4 separate regions of the Homo sapiens genome follow, and regions 1, 3 and 4 are each linked to region 2. The links are contacts of gene promoters, found by promoter capture Hi-C in blood cells and fetal thymus (Javierre and others, 2016). All regions are on one chromosome and are shown on one strand. Each heading gives the region's core, a stretch centred on a gene start or on the middle of the fragment in contact. The rest is flanking DNA. Distances are from core to core; before and after follow the strand shown. Region 1 overlaps WRNIP1 (WRN helicase interacting protein 1). Region 2 holds the start of SERPINB6 (serpin family B member 6). Region 3 has its middle 24 kb from the start of WRNIP1. Region 4 holds the start of LOC124901241 (a long non-coding RNA gene).

Region 1 (2,700 bases), core at 32-2,531, 200 kb after region 2:
AGAATATTTGCATTATATACTTACCAGATGAGCACCCAAAATCCAGAAATCTGAAGTGCTCCAATAAGCATTTCCTTTCACAGCATCATGAAGGTGCTCAAAAAGCTTTAGATTTGGGAGCATTTTGGATTTCAGATTTGGGATACTCAACCTGTACTACATATGAGGAGCTGGCAGCCCCCTTAGGCTCTGACAAATGCCCACCACATAAAGCACTTCTGAGTATGAGTCCATGTGGCTGATACCACAGGTTCCACACACTGCTTGTGGCCACAGATGTAATGGCTATCCCCATCACAACGGTATTCCAAAACAAGGCCACTCTGTCCTACCCAGTGGTCCACGGGCCAAATGTTTCAATGCTTTCATTAGACACAGCAGAATTCTCCCTCCATCTCAGACAGGAGCAAATGGGGCCAGACACATAGGGAGAGCCTGGTGAAACCTAAACCCTGAGCCTAAACTATGCCTTGTACTTTAATCCTCACAGAAAAGTGGCTCCAGAACTTGGCCTCAGGGCAGGCACGAGCAGCTGCAGAGTCCACAGCAGGAGGAGGTGGGCAATAGCCTCTCATCACACCAGATTATGTTCCATGGCAGTATTTCAGCCAACGTATGAACAAATACCATCTGAAGAATATGTTCTAATATTAAAAAAAAGGAAAACCCCTGACCCAAGAAATCAAATTATCTATGATATACACTTGGTGCATTAACGAGCTCATGTGGTACTCATGATGCAGAAATAGGTCACTAAAAGGATAGGGACAGCCTATAATGTCATATTCAGTTAACATTCCTTTACTTTCATGAAACTGAGTTTCAACTACACAAAAAGGATTACATAATTTTAAGGTTACAAGTTAATTTTTACTTGATTTTTTTTTTTTAACAAAATGCTAAACTGCAGGTTAAAAAGAAATTGAAACATGAGTACAATGCTCAAAAGAGTTGTATGGTAAGTCTAGAAAGTATTTATCTATCTATTTGTTCTATTCAATGAGGGACATAAAGCCTTTCAAATCATCAATAAGGCTTCCCATAGAAGCCTAAGCACAAAAGCAAACACCCAAGAACCAAAACAACAAAGCAAAGTTAAAGCTTGAAGAATTATAGAAACACATATTAGAGGCTGGAAAATGCATCTTCAAGTGTGCAGGGATAACTTTGTTAGGTATAATCGAACATTTCCCTCCTCTTTTATTTTCATTACGGGCGGATCAACATTTCTTCTCTGTCCCCACCCTCTCCTCACTGACGCCCGGCCCTTTCTGGCCCCCTGCCAGGAGACTCTCTGGGAGGTGTGTGCCCCCAGGACGCTGCACACTGTCAACTTACTCTGAGCTGCTGTTGCTGCTGTGGCTCAGAGGGTCAGTGGGACGGCTAGAGTCTAGGACGTGGATTCCCAGGGAGTTGATCGCTCGCATTAAAATAGTCACCATTGCCTCTACTGGAAGCTTCTCAAGAACAATCACTCGACAGCGGCTCAGAAGAGCAGCGTTGACCTGGAAGGAAGGGTTTTCAGTGGTTGCCCCAATCAGAGTGATCGTCCCACATTCCACGTGAGGAAGGAAAGTGTCCTAATCATGGGAGGAAAACAGAAAAAAGTGATTCCAGTCAACAGCCACCTGCAGAATCCTATGTAAGTTGGCTATCCCTTCCTTCCTTTTCCTCATTTTTATCTTTCGAGTTCAGGAATAGCAGCAGCCTTATATTCACTGAATATAGATGCAATATTTGGGGGAGTACAACTCTTGCTTTTAAGTCTGAAACACATCTTCTGGAATGCCCGTCCAAGCCTGATCTCTTGCTGGTAGACTAATAGCTTTAAGTAGAATTCTAGCTTAGTTTCAACATAAATGATTTCTTTACTCAGAAAACCATCTTCTACCAAAGGCTGAACTGGCACATAGCTTATATGTAACAGCTATTTATTTATAGACAAGAACACACAAAAACATTAACACTTCCAGAATCTTCTTCCACAGCAAGCACTCAATCATATTATTATTATTCCTATTATGCTGTTTTATGGGGAAAAAATACTAAGATGAGTCAGTGGTCCAATATGAAACCTAGAATGCTAACGCCTCGTCAGAACTTTAAAAGGGTCTTTTTATTCAAAAAGGTTCAAAAAAGGCTCAGTAGAGTTTTGTGAAATATTCTATGTATGATTAAAAAGTTACAAAAAAAAATTTTTTAAAGTTATGCCTAAAAATTTAATTTTTTTTTATTTAGAGTATAGCTCTCAGATCTCAGCCCAATAAAATTTTAATGTTTATTTTTTTTTAAATCCCTAAGTGGCTTTGTTTATAAAAATAGCTTGTGTCCTTTTATTTCAGAAACCCATTTAAATAAACAGTAATCATTAGCTCTTCCAACATTCACCTTGAAGACAGAGCCTGGAGTTACAGAAAATACCGATTGTTTAATTTTCAAAATAAAAATACTGTTAAAGTAATTTTTAAAAACCCATTAAAATAATGACCTTAAAATCATTATTTTACTGTTCACAATGACTCCTAGTATTTAGATTAAAAATTCCTAAAACTGGAAATTTGATTCAAAGGTGCTTTTCTGATACGTATAGCTCAGGGATATGCCAACCATTTCATTTATCAGATAGAGAAAGCATTTTCTTGTTATCAAAAAACACTAAGAAATGTATGGAGAAATAGGCTTGAAGGAGATGGGTTCACA
Region 2 (2,700 bases), core at 118-2,617:
AATCCCATCCAGGTTGCCAATGCCATTAATTCATTCCTTTTTATGGCTGAGTAGCATTCCACCGTATACGCATACCACAGTTTCTTTATCCACTCTTTGATTGATGGGCATTTGGGTTGGTTTCATGTTTTTGCAATTACGAATTGTGCTGCTATTAACATGCGTGTGCAAGTATCTTTTTTGTATAATGACTTATTTTCCTCTGCGTAGATACCCAGTAGTGGGATTGCTGGATCAAATGGTAGTTCTATTTTTAGTTATTTAAGGAATCGCCATACTATTTTCCACAGTGGTTGTACTATCCATCAGCAGTGTAGAGGTGTTCCCTCTTCACCAAATCCACGCCAACATCTATTATTTTTTGAGTTTTTGATTTTTTGATTAAGGCCACTCTTGCGGGAGTAAGGTGGTATCACATTGTGGTTTTGATTTGCATTTCCCTAATCATTAGTGATGTTGAGCATTTTTTCTTGTTTGTTGGCCATTTGCATATCCTCTTTTGAGAACTGTCTATTCATGCCAGCCCACTTTTTGATGGGATTTTTTTTTCTTGCTAATTTGTTTGAGTTTCTTGTAGATTCTGGATATTACTGCTTTGTCGGATGTATAGATTGTGAAGATTTTCTCCCACTCTGTAGGTTGTCTGTTTACTCTGCTTGACTATTCCTTTTGCTTTGCAAAAGCTATTTAGTCTACTTTTTTTTTTTTTTTTTTTTTTTTTTTTTTTGAGACGGACCAGACTGGAGTGCGGTGGCGCCATCTCGGCTCACTGCAGCCTCTGCCTCCCGGGTTCAAGTGATTCTCCTGCCTCAGCTTCCCCAGCAACTGAGATTACAGGCACGCGCCATTACACTCGGCTAATTTTTGTATTTTTAGTAGAGACGGGGTTTTGCCATGTTGGCCAGGCTGGTCTGGAACTCCTGACCTCCAGTGATCCGCCTGCCTCGGCCTCCCAGTGTTGGGATTACTGGCGTGAGCCCCGCGCCCGCCCCTGGCTGGCTTCTTTGCCGCAAGCTGTTTCATCAGCAAAGTCTTTGTGACCTGTATCTAGTCTGCTCATTTTTAAATGCGTGTTCTGCACTCCCCAGTGGATGGCCGTGTATCAGGAGCCGGCCCTTTTCTGGAAACAGGCCAGCATTCAGTCTCCACAGAGGCACCATAAACACGCTGGTGGGGCCCTGTACTGTGGTCAAAGTCAAGGCCTCCGGGCAGGACTCGCGGCCCCTCCGGCTGGCGGGTGGGGTTGACCCGCACGTCCCGCCCCGCCTCTCCCTTCGCGCTCCGGACGGGCGACGGTAGCTCGAGACCCGGGACTCCGCCCGCCTCCCCGCGAGTATTTGAGGTCCGGGGCGGCTCCGGCGCCTCTGCCCGCCGTTCTGCTCGCTCGCTCCCCGCTCTGGAGTACGTGTCTGGCTTGGGAGCCGCTCGGACACGCTGGCTTGGGTTTGTCGCTCCAAAGTCGGGAAAGCCGGGGGCGCGAGCGGGGAGGGGGGCAGGGTGGGGGTCGCGCGGGGCCGGGAACGCGCGTGGGTCGACGGCGCGCGGGGACGCTGGAGCCCCGAGAATGGGGCGTGGCCGCGCGGGGCTGTGACCCCAGCAGTCCCAGCGGGGCGGGGGCCCGGGCGAGCGTCCGGCTTGGGTTCCCTTCCGGAGCCTCGCAGCGGCAGAGAACGGCGACGCGGCCGGGTGAGTCGTGCGTGGCCGCGAGCCCGGCCGGTGACGCCGCGGACCCGAGGACCCCGGGCGCCCAGGCCCAGCGCCCACGGAAGAGGCGGCCGGCGCGGGATGGGGGCGGCGCAGAGCCTCCCGGGCCACAGGTGACCCCGGTCGGCCCCGCGGCCTCGGTGACCCCTCGCCCGCTCCGCGACCCGGAGGACGCGTGCTCAGTCTTGGGGCGCCGGGTGTTAGGAGCCGGGCGGGAGGCGGAGAGAGGCCGAGGGGTTCGGCGCCAAACGGTGCCATCCGGGCCCCCTGCGTGTGTTCACTGGACTGGCCGTGCTGGGCTTGGCCAATCCGCAGCACTTTCAGGTCGCCCAGACCTGTGGAGACGATCGTGTGGACCAGCCCGGATCTCCTTACCGCTCTGTGTTTGAATTAAACTCCCTACAGGCAAACTATTACAGGCTTTGATGTCTTCAAGGCAAAGAGGAAACTTTAACTACAAATTGGCATTTAAGTTATTTTCTTCCTTTTTTTTTTTTTTTTTTTTGTCCTAAAGATTGGCTTCGGAAAACTGAGGTACAGAAAATTAATAATTAATGTTCACATGCTGTCAGGAATACTCAGATGCGAGGGGGCATCTGAGTCCATTTTTTGGGCACTTTTGCTTTCTGGGATGCTCTCGTGCCTAATGACAGCCCTGCAGCTGCCTGCATCCTTTCTGGTGGGGGTCAGGCCTGATGCGATGAGATCTGATGTGTTCAGTGACCTTCTAGTTAAGGTCCTGGGCCGGCCTTGTATTGCTGGGGCTTTTATGTGTGCTGGGATTAACACCAGTGACTGCTGTTATCAGCATAGATGGCGTTTGTTCTCATTTCAGGACCGTATCTGAGTAATTGCATCCATTGTGATGTGCCACCAAAGAGAAAAGTACTTTGGTCATACTCGACTATGTAAACTAAGTATTTTAAGTTAAGGCCAATTCCAATGCATTTTATTACAATTCAGCATGAAACAGTTAACACGGACCAGTAACAGTAG
Region 3 (2,700 bases), core at 168-2,667, 180 kb after region 2:
GCCTTGCCAGGGAATTGCTTCTCACCTTGTGTTGGTCCCCTGAACCTCCCCTATACCTCTCTAATACTTGTGATCCCTGATTAAAAGTTTCTCAGTGGCCTGAGGGGATCATCTGCATCCTCCCCGGAGCCTGACTGGCTTTAGAGCTTCAAAACATTTAGTTTTAAATGATTGGTTTTTATGAAGATTTGTTAACTCTATTAAAAATATTTACTTCTGTTTGGTTTCTGCTTAAGTTATAAATGCCTTTGTGGGCTCAAACTGCCTGGAACTGCATCTATGAATGTGTAGTAGTGCTTTCAAACTGTAGTCGCTACACAAAGGTTAATTCATCAAAAAGTAAGAGATCCATGGCATTTATATGAAAGTATAGGAAAATCATCCTTTCTAATATAACATCAGTATCAAAAGGCCGGTTCTCTCATTTGGAATTAATTGATAACATTGTCCAGGTTTGATGACTTGTATCTGGAAAAGATGAGTTAACATCCATTCTTGTTGTAACAATTGGAACAAATCTCTGCAAGTCACTATTCTTACTGTTCTTAAACTCAGGTTTGGCTGTTATGAGGGTGAACAAAACTACCAAATACACTTGGAACATAAGGAATAAATTGTGTTTGGTGGTTATGTTGCTTTTTCAGAATCAGTACATAACTTGTGATATTTATTTATTTACTTATTTATTATTATTTTTTAAGATGGAGTCTCACTCTGTCACCTAGCCTGGAGTGCAGTGGCGCGATCTCGGCTCACTGCAACCTCCACCTCCCAGGTTCAAGCGATTCTCCTGCCTCAGGCTCCTGAGTAGCTGAGATTACAGGTGTGCGCCACCACACCCAGCCAATTTTTATATACTTAATAGAAACGACGTTTCACCATGTTGCCCAGGCTGGTCTCAAACTCCTGATCTCAAGTGACCTGCCCGCCTCAGCCTCCCAAAGTGCTGGGATTACAGGTGTGTGCCACCGCACCTGGCCCATAACTTGTGGTATTTAAATGGCATCATATGGAAGGGCTGCCCCCAATTGTTGAATACTACTGTAAACAGGCAAGAGATGTGCCTCCCTCACCAGAAACTCTGACTCACTGCATTAGTTTTTCCCAGGGTTTAGCTAATGGTGTAAACTTTCAGTCATGCTCACTGTGGTATGTGAGAGGTATTCATTCAGGCAGTGAATATCTGCTTTAAAAACTTTAAAAATCTGCTTTCACAAAATAAGATTCTTTGAAACCAAAAAACAAGCATTTGCAAACTTTCAAGCTTGATTTTACAGTTACAGAAAGTTGGCTGCTCAGTGCCCCGCTGCTGGATACAGCAGAAAGTGTGCTGCAGGCTCTCCCCAGCACCGCGTGCTCCAGCACAGGCCCCGTGTCCGCGTTACACACTGTGTTCAGGGCCGCATGTCTAATAGGATGATGGATCTCAAAAAGCCCTCATCACTTATCTGTTGGCTTGAGTTACGATGCTCACATATCGTCCTGGCATAAATTCACACCTGTGCCTTGACCACCACTGGGATCCGTCCCTTGGGAAACTGGCAGGAGTGAGTCATGACGGAAAAGCTTGTTGAGGAGTTAATGTCACCTCCGGTTACATCACAAGCACACTTCTTATTTGGAAGTAACTCCATCCCCCAACAAAAATTTTTTTTTTTTTTTTTTTTTTGAGACGGAGTCTCGCTCTGTCGCCCAGGCTGGACTGCGGACTGCAGTGGCGCAATCTCGGCTCACTGCAAGCTCCGCTTCCCGGGTTCACGCCATTCTCCTGCCTTAGCCTCCCGAGTAGCTGGGACTACAGGCGCCCGCCACCGCGCCCGGCTAATTTTTTGTATTTTTAGTAGAGACGGGGTTTCACCTTGTTAGCCAGGATGGTCTCGATCTCCTGACCTCGTGATCCACCTGCCTTGGCCTCCCAAAGTGCTGGGATTACAGGTGTGAGCCACCACGCCTGGCCTGTAAAAATGTTATTTTTAAAGAATCAAAATTGGCCAGGCACAGTGGCTCATGCCTGTAATCCTAGCATTTTGGGAGGCTGAGGCAGGCGGATTGCCTGAGCTCAGGAGTTCGAGACCAGCCTGGGCAAGACAGTAAAACCTTGTCTTTACTAAAATACAAAAAAATTAGCCAGGCGTGGTGGTGTGTGCCTGTAGTCCCAGCTACTCAGGAGGCTGAGGCAGGAGAAGTGCTTGAACCCAGGAGGTGGAGGTTGCAGTGAGCCGAGATCGCGTCATTGCACTCCAGCCTGGGCAAAAGAGCACAAGCCTCCGTCTCCAAAAAAAAAAAAAAAAAAATCAAGAAAAAACTGGGCTATACATTTCTTAATGAAATACTAGTAAAGATAATGGATTGGACCCACATGTGATTTTATTTCCTCCTAAGCCTCCACCAAAAATACAGTAAAGGAATCCTTAAAATCCATCAATCCTTGAAAGTGAGGAGAACAAGTGAGATAATGGCAACATGATGCTGGAGGTGGAAACATGGCGGGCAAATGGTAACTGACCTGGCAAGTCGAGTGGGGAATGCCAAGGCATCAACGTGGCAGACGTCTCAGAGGCTTGGGAGGTGGCAGCAGGTAAGGAAGAGGAAGATGGGTCTCCAGACACCCTCTCCTACTCCAGGCCAGGGGAAGATCTCTGAACCAGAGGGGCCCAGATAGAGCCAGGGGCTTGGGTACCATTTCAGTCAGAAGATCAA
Region 4 (2,755 bases), core at 92-2,591, 160 kb after region 2:
CAAATTGATCTGTTGATTAATACAATCCCAGTCAGAATCTCAGCAGGCTACTTGTGGAAACTGAAAAGCTACATCTAAAATTTACATGGAAATGCAAAAGACCTAGAATAATCATGTCAAAGCAACTTTGAAAAAGATGTAAAACGTTAGAGGCTTTAAAATATTTTATTATTATTATTTTTAGCAGAGGTGAGGTCTTGCTATGGCACCCAGGCTGGTCTCAAACTCCCAGGCTCAAGCAATCCTCTCATCTCGGCCTCCCCAGATGCTGGGATCACAAGCATGAGCCACTGTGCCCAGTCTAAAATGCCTTATTTTAAGACATGTTATAAAGATCCAGTAATCAAGGTAGTGTGATATTGAGATTAAGGATATATATATACACACATATATATATGTATTCTATATTATATATACACATGGGGCAGAATAGAGAGTCCAGAAATAGACCCACACATATACGGTCAATTGATTTTTAACAAATGTGCCAAGGCAATTCTATGGGGAAAGTAAAATCTTGTCAACAAATGGTTCTGGGACAATTTGACAGCCATATGCAAAAATATGAATCTCAACACTATTCCTTGTGTATAATTTTAATATGCAAAAATGAACTACAGAATGAAGCATAGACCCAAATGCAAGAGCTTAAAAAAGCATAACTTCTAGAATAAAATATATAAGAAAATCTTAGTGACACTGGGTTTGTCAAAGAAATCTTCAGTATGACATAAAACAATCAAACTATTTTTTTTAAAAACAGTATATTGGATTTTATCAGAACAAAAAAACTCTTTTCTCCTCAAAAGCAAGCCATAGACCAGGAGATAATATTTGCAAGACATATATTTGACAAAGGACTTGTATGTAGACTGTATAAAGAATACTACATAATAAGAAGACAAACAGCCCAATTTATTTATGTTTTTAATTTTTATTTTTATAGATGTATGGGGTACAAATGCAGTTGTGTGATACAGATTTATTGCATAGTGGTGAAGTGTGGGCTACTAGTGTACTCATCACCCGAATAGTGTCCATTATGCCCAATACGTGGTATTTCATTCCTCACACCCTTCCTACCTTCCACCTTTCTGAGTCTCCACTATCTATTACTCCACTCTGCATGTCAATGTATATGCACTTTTTAAAAAATGGCCAAAAGATGTGAACAGACACTGCATCAAAGAAGATATATAGATGGTAAATAAGCACATGAAAATATGTCCATACTTAATGGTACTTTACTTTCGTCCTATGATGCCCATACTTTCATCCTGTGATAAAAAACAAGGCAAGGACCATCATTAGTCATGTAATGATCGTCATTAGGGAAATGCAAATTAAAACCACCATGAGATGTATACCCACCAGAATAGTTAGAATTAAAAAGACTGATCACACTAAATGTATATTCTGGGGGCAATGTCAACTATTACACCACTTTGGAAAACAATTTCTTTTTTTTCTTTTAGAGATGGGGTCTTGCTATAGTGCCTAGGCTGGTCTTGGACTTCTGGCCTCAAGTGTTCCTCCTACCTCAGCCTCCCAAAGTTCTGGGATTACAGGCATGAGCCACTGTGCCTGGCTTGGAAAACAATTTACTAAAAAATTAAATATATACCTGACATGTGACCCGGTCATTCCACTTCTATTAATAGGTGTTTACCAGAAAAGAAAGCATAGACCCACACAAAGACTTGTATGCACAAATTAATAGTTTTATTTGCAATAGCCAAAAACCAAAAACAACCAAAATGTCAACCAATAGACGAATGAATAAACAAATTGTCATATATTCATACAGTGGAATACTACTTAGCAAAAAAAAAAATTATTGATAAACTTTACAACATGTGTGAATCCAAAAATACCTATGTTGAGTGAAAGAAGCAAGACAAGAAAACAGGTGGGGCGTGGTGGCTCATGCCTGTCATCCCAGCACTTTGGGAGGCCGAGGCAGGTGGATCACGAGGTCAGGAGATTGAGACCATCCTGGCTAACACGGTGAAACCCCATCTCTACTAAAAATGCAAAAAATTAGCCGGGCGTGGTGGCGGGCACCTGTAGTCCCAGCTACTCGGAAGGCTGAGGCAGGAGAATGGCGTGAACCCGGGAAGTGGAGCTTGCAGTGAGCTGAGATCGCGCCGCTGCACTCCAGCCTGGGTGACAGAGCAAGAATCCGTCTCAAAAAAAAAAAAAAAAAAAAGACTAGAAAAGAGTATATATTATAGAATTCTTGTAATTGCTAACTAGTCTGCAGTGACAGAAAGCAGGTCGATGATTGCCTGGACTGGGGAAGGGAGGGAGGGATTATAAAAGGGAATGAAGAAATTTGGGGGGCTAAGGGATATGTTTGCCATCTTGATTGTGATGATGATTTCACAGGTGTATACATATGTCAAAACTTAGCAAATATATACCTTAAATATGGGCAGTTTACGATATGTCAATATACCTCAACAAAGCTGTTAAAGAAATCTCTGTCTCCAACCCATTCCTTCTTTTTTTTTTTTTTTTTTTTTTTTTTTTTGAGATAGAGTCTTGCTCTGTGGCCCAGGCTCAAGTGCAGTGACGTGATCTCGGCCCATTGCAACCTCCGCCTTCCAGGTTCAAATGATTCTCCTGCCTCAGCCTCCTGAGTAGCTGGGATTACAGGACTGTGCCACCACACCTGGCTAATTTTTGTATTTTTAGTAGAGACAAGGTTTCCCCACGTTGGCCAGGCTGGTCTTGAACTCCTGACCTCAAGTGA

Evidence for each region. Contacts are between HindIII fragments. The CHiCAGO score rates a contact against its expected background, and 5 or more counts as called.
Region 1: a fragment that was not itself captured here is called in contact with the fragment with the promoter of SERPINB6 in region 2 in 1 of 17 cell types (total CD8 T cells); the score reaches 6.0 in total CD8 T cells.
Region 3: a fragment that was not itself captured here is called in contact with the fragment with the promoter of SERPINB6 in region 2 in 13 of 17 cell types (monocytes, naive B cells, total CD8 T cells and 10 more); the score reaches 9.6 in monocytes.
Region 4: a fragment that was not itself captured here is called in contact with the fragment with the promoter of SERPINB6 in region 2 in 3 of 17 cell types (total CD8 T cells, total B cells and neutrophils); the score reaches 6.5 in total CD8 T cells.

Annotation. Positions count from the first base shown.
Region 1 is chr6:2,769,000-2,771,699 of GRCh38, reverse strand. It overlaps WRNIP1 (WRN helicase interacting protein 1), which reads right to left. Exons shown (of 7, transcript NM_020135.3): 3 at 1,339-1,580. It also overlaps a transcript of MYLK4 not described here. Among named protein-coding and RNA genes, the nearest start is that of WRNIP1, 5.0 kb to the right of the region's middle. The HindIII fragment of the contact is 356 bases long and covers 1,104-1,459 here.
Region 2 is chr6:2,970,234-2,972,933 of GRCh38, reverse strand. It overlaps SERPINB6 (serpin family B member 6), which reads left to right and starts at 1,367. Exons shown (of 7, transcript NM_004568.6): 1 at 1,367-1,401. RefSeq lists an enhancer at 1,062-1,586. The HindIII fragment of the contact is 12,287 bases long and covers 1-2,700 here.
Region 3 is chr6:2,787,886-2,790,585 of GRCh38, reverse strand. No RefSeq gene overlaps it. Among named protein-coding and RNA genes, the nearest start is that of WRNIP1, 24 kb to the right of the region's middle. The HindIII fragment of the contact is 302 bases long and covers 1,267-1,568 here.
Region 4 is chr6:2,812,506-2,815,260 of GRCh38, reverse strand. It overlaps LOC124901241 (a long non-coding RNA gene), which reads left to right and starts at 2,507. Exons shown (of 3, transcript XR_007059408.1): 1 at 2,507-2,755. The HindIII fragment of the contact is 6,275 bases long and covers 1-2,755 here.